Linked DNA regions of Homo sapiens: region 1 is linked to region 2. Evidence: promoter capture Hi-C in human tissues and cell types (Jung and others, 2019). All regions are on one chromosome and are shown on one strand. The core of a region is centred on a gene start or on the middle of the fragment in contact, and the rest is flanking DNA. Distances in the headings are between cores, read along the strand shown.

The links. The method cuts DNA at HindIII sites, captures the fragments that hold promoters and counts their contacts. A contact is called where the count stands out against the background at its distance.
Region 1: a fragment that was not itself captured here is called in contact with the fragment with the promoter of PLCB4 in region 2 in 1 of the 25 tissues and cell types used here (H1 embryonic stem cells).

Annotation. Positions count from the first base shown.
Region 1 is chr20:9,109,225-9,111,924 of GRCh38, reverse strand. The region is part of intron 2 of PLCB4 (phospholipase C beta 4); the gene reads right to left. Among named protein-coding and RNA genes, the nearest start is that of PLCB4, 41 kb to the right of the region's middle. The HindIII fragment of the contact is 6,369 bases long and covers 1-2,700 here.
Region 2 is chr20:9,067,837-9,070,536 of GRCh38, reverse strand. PLCB4 (phospholipase C beta 4) reads right to left here and starts at 1,450. Exons shown (of 40, transcript NM_001377142.1): 1 at 1,331-1,450. The HindIII fragment of the contact is 12,704 bases long and covers 1-2,700 here.

The DNA of each region.
Region 1 (2,700 bases), core at 12-2,511, 42 kb before region 2:
CACATTAAATACATACTTCTATATACTTCATAGTGGAAAAAATACTTTGAGAAGGCAATATCCCATTTTAAATCAAAGTAATTATTTCTGTATGGAAGAAAATCCCTATGTTTTATGAGAGTTACTTGGAGCAGGCCATTCGTCTCAAAGAGGCTATTTTTATAATACAATAAATAAAATATTCTTAAATGAACTGCCCATCAATGGGAGAAAATTATCCATTTGTGTTAAAAGAAGTCTATTTTTGTCAGGTCTTTCCAAAGCAAACAAATTAGCAGTGGCTTTGGGAACTGTGAATCCACAGCCTCAACAGCAGTTGTCCAAAATTAAAGGTTTGTCAGAATGGGTGGGTGGAAGATGGAAACATTTCAAATGAGTATAAACATTTTATAACCCAGACAGAACCTTTCAAGAGTATCCCCACAGACTGAAATGATCTGTCACCTGGGCTAGGCCCCAGCTTCATAAATGGAACTTTCATAAATGGAATATTTTCAAAAATAACAATGAGAGAAAGCAACTCTTTGAAAAACAGATTTAAAGTAGAAAACATTCATAATATATTAAGTAGGAAAAGGAGGTTACAAAAGCATGAGATCTCAATTTCGTAAAACAAACAAAAACCAAATAAGATCCACACTGCCATCTGAAGAACACCACATTACAACATTAGTGGGTGCAGGGCCAAAGCCAGTTCTCTGTCCAATAACTTCCAGGCTTTGCCCAATGTACCTTCCCAAGTAGAGAAGAGTCATAGAGCCCTTTCAGGAAGCTCATCCCTGAGGGGGGTGTCTGTGACAAATCTAAGTCTAACATCGTTCAATCTGGCATTTTCCCAAACGTATATGACATGGAAAGTTTCCCAATGTCCCCAGTGACCCAGAACACCTATTAACATTCTTAGCAGCTCACCTTGGAAACAGTTTGAATAATAAATTGAATACCTGCTTAATGAATACAAGTAGTCAAAAAAATTGATGAAAGACCAAAAAGAACAACAGTACAATATCAAAAGTGGTGATTTGTGGGTTGTAGGATTTTGGATTATATTAATTTTCCAAATTTTCTATAACAAACATATTACCTTCATGATTATGAAAAAAAATACAGTATTTTACGATGCCTAAAGGGCTACACTGTTCATCTTCCTCTAAACTATTCATTGGTGAAGAGGACATTTGGTACTTCAAATGCCAACACACTAAGTTGGAGAAAAGGAGAAAGATCTGGCAATCTGTAGATTGCCACATGTAGACCATCTATAAAAGGCCAGCTATAAAAGAAACGTAGTCAGCTTAAATACTGTTCTCAGATTTCTGGTGTCCTATGAAAATAAATGAAGCAAGGAGTCCAGCCCTGGCAAAAGATGAAGGAGAACCTCAGCCTCACTAATTTCCTGTTTATTCTCTCAGATGCCAACCATTACACAGCAGCCTTTGGGAGAAATGTAAAATGTGTAGAGATAATCTAAACACTGTTTAGTCTTTTTATTTCCCCCACAAAAGACAGTGTAAATAGAGGAGAAATGATAGCTTACAAGACATTTTTATGAATCTGAGACAATAATGTATATGTCCATTGAAAGATGTTTAAATCCTATGTTTTAAAGATTCATATTTCATTGAAATAAATGCTAATCAGTGTAAGTTGTTATTTTCCATCAAAAATATATTTTTGGCATTTCTTCTTCAACTTTAATTTTTATTATATGTTTTAAAAAAAAAACAATTCCAGACAATATGGCTGAAAGGCTATGTTAGCCTTGACCTGTGCATTCATTTTCTATGCGGAGTTTCAAAACGTTCTACAAATTAACACTTTGCAAAAAATAGTTGAGTACTGTTTAGTAAAATACCCATTGCTTAATAATAATAATTTTAAAAAACTCTACTAACCTTCTCTGTGGGAACTTGTCCATAAACTTGAATAACAGATTCACAGAACATCAGGGCTAGAAGAAAGCTAAACTGGGCCTCCATACCCTTGACTCCCAATACTGAGGCCTGAATTGGTTAAGTGCCTCCCTCCAGGTCACACAGCTACTTAGGGACAACACAAAGCCAGATGACAATTTCCAGAAGACTGAGATTTTGAAGCTGTAACTGAAAACTCCCTGAGTTAATTAAGACAATGACTGCAGTTCAGTCCTGGCAAGAAAAAAAGGATAATATTTATGTGAGAACGAACTTAGTCCATCTGTGGCTGGCACACAAATCTTTCCCTTCACTATATTAGGCTTTCACTTTAACTTGTTCTGCCTGTCTTCCAAACAATTTTTGACTGATATCAGAAAACAAAAATCCTCCTGTTATTTCATGAGCCCAGCTTTTATAATTTGATAAGCACTAGAATATGTGTATTGTAGGTAAGTTGCAGAGGGGTGGTGGTAGGGAGTAGGGGAAAGGTTTATTAAATCAAGAAGCTATCATTTTAGGCCATTACGAAAAAAAAAAAAGCAATCATTTTATTTATTTCCCACACTCATGCATTACAATCCCACATGAATTGCCTACCAGTGAAAATTGTGAGATTCTCCTTCTCAAATAGGGAGACTGCTAAAATTCTATTTTAAAGTTTTATTGATATTTTTATTCATAATTTCCAGAGAAAGGACCAGAAGTGTGAGTTGGTTGTTTATTTTTGTTTTCTTTTGTTTTAATCAAATCAACTGCCTAAAGAAGAAACTGAAACTCCAGCACA
Region 2 (2,700 bases), core at 201-2,700:
CTATGAAAAACAGCATTCTGGATTACATAACACAGATAGTGAGGGATTACACCACATGCCCCTGCTGAGCTAGACTTTTGATCTTCTGTATGATTCTATAACTGAGGCCACTCAAATTTGAAGAGTATAAAATATGAGGGTCTCAGTTCAACCACACATTTCTGAAAACAGCCGTCTTGAAAACAATAAAAGAATAAAGTTAAAATTTTACCTTCCCCCGCAACACACACACAATTTTTCTATTCTGAAAAACACAGTTGTTCAGATACTTTCTTAACCTCCTTGGAGCCTCCCCAGGTAAAGTCACCAGTTGCTTTTCCTGGTCATGTTTACATTATAAATCTGATTTCTCTTTAAGGGGAAATTCAATATCATTTTAAAATGATACATAGCTGCCTATGTTTGAATAACGTTATTTCCAGACAAAAAGAATTATTAAACAGCTATCTCCACATACCTATAACTTAAATATATAGACCACTAAGTATTACGTATATGGAAAAAAAAACACCTTTCCTGAATATTCTGGCCAAAATTAAATTTCAAATACATGTTTTAGAACAATAGCTAGAATCACTACAGAAGTTAAGAGGAAAAAAAGTTGGAAGAGTAGGGTCATCTTTCAGATATATCCATATTTATGGAAACTATAGTGGGCAGTTGTATTTCTCTCTAGGAAAATGCTAGTTTTATGATTCTAGATAAAGTTGCACTTAAACACACTTGGAAATTAGAGAATTCCATATTTCCATACTTCGATTCAGTACCATATACGAAGTCTACACTCAGAAGTATTGTACTATACAGAGTCTAATTGGTTAAAGCAAAAGCAACTTTAAAATTCTGAAAATAAGGATTTCCTTCACTAACAGGCTTTTAGGAGGCCCGAACCCTGCCCCCAATGAGTGCTAAGCCTGTCAGTGTTGTTTTAAGTGGAAACGGTCAATCATTTCTATGATTTCCCCAGAAGAGGCAAGAAGATCCACACGCATACACATTTACATGCGTTGCACGGTGCCAACTATTTCCAACCAAAATAATCATATACACGTCGAGCCGAGCTATTTCTAGCCCAGAAGAGGGTGAACGTCTGGAGAGAGTCTGAGGAAACCCAGCAGGCGATGACTGCAGGGGAAGGGGGATGGCGTCTGGGTCCCCTGCCTCCCGCGCGCACAGGGCGCCTGGCACCCGGCACCTGCACGGGGTCCCCGCTGGGCATCCGGGTGCGCGCGCGCGCGCGTCCGGGACGCACCCGCGGAAAGCAAACAAGCCCTGAGGGCCAAGGCGGGCGGGAGCATCCTCGGGCGGGACCCGAAATGCCTTTTCCTACCTGTCACTTTGCCTGGAGCTGCTGCCGGGGATGCGGCGACGGCCGCTGCCTGGAGACCCAGTGTGTACGCGCGTGTGTGTGCGCGCCCGTGTGTGCGTGTGCGTGTGTGTGTCTGTGTGTGAGAGATCTTGTTGGCGGTGCAGCTCACTTACTGCTCCCGGCGCGGCGCCACCACCCCCTCCTCGCCATAAAGAGCCGCCGCCAAGCCCCCTCCCGGCGCACCCCAGTCCCGCCCTCCCGCCTGCCTCCGCACCCCCTCCCTGGCCTCCCCGCCTCCCCGTCTCCGCGCCGCGCGGTCCTTACCTCAGTTGAGGGCGGGGGTCTCCGCCGTGGCTCCCCAGCGAGCCCACGGGGCAGCGCCGACCCGCCCGCCCACCGCCGGGCCCTGCGCGTCCCCCGCTCCGGGCCCCGCCGCCCCTCAGCGGCCAGCCGCTTCCTCCTCCCCTGCCCCCGAGCCTCCCTCCTCGTTCTCGCCTCCCGGCTCCAGAGCCCGAGCTGTCGCCTCGCAGCCCCAACCTGCCCAGGCTACGGAGCATGCCCAGTGCGGCGCGCCGGGCTGGGCTGGGGGTGGGCAGGGGCCGGGCCGGCCGCCCAGTTGCCGCGAGCCCGCAGGGCGAGGAGTGGGCGCCGACTGGGTCGGGGGCGCAGCCTCGCGAGCCGGGGGCCGAGCAGCCGAGGCAGGTGGTGGGCAGCGCCAAGAGGAGGTGGGTGGGGCATCCGGGGAAGCCGGCCCGCGGCGCGCTCCTCTGGGGTCTCCCTGGCGGCTCCCCGCGGCATGTGCCCCATGCCCAAGGGTCGGGGGCGCACGGGATGGCGCTGGGCGCAGAACCCAGGGAGCGGGGGCAGAAAAGCGGCACCCTCCTCGGATGGGAGACCCGCAGCCCGCCGTGGGCCGTGTGGAGGGGCTCAGGACTGGCCAGAACGGGGCCCCCAAAGCCGTTGGCTGGGTGGGGGACGTGCTTATTTGTTTATATTCGGTTTCATAAACCCATACAGCGCCTACAATGCGTCCTGCAGTGTTCTAAACGCTTTTTATTCATTTAATCCCTAAAACAATCTTCCAAAGAGTACTACTGCCTCTTTTTATTTCGCGGGTCTTACACAGAGCCACAGAGATTAAGTGGTTCCAAAAAGTCTTCCCACAAGTGCAACCTCAGACATGCAAATCCCCCAGACTTTGGTCCCTGGGATGCTGGGGTGCTGCTCCAGCCAGTTCCTGGCTTTTCCCGGCCCTACAACGGCCCCCAGGTGCCTCCGAGTCACACTCACACCCAGGCCCTAATGGTGTTCGGTCTGGCATCACCCTTGTGTGGACCCTCACAACGTGCTGCTCCCGAACTCCGGAGGGCTCCCTCCTCCCCACTCCGCCT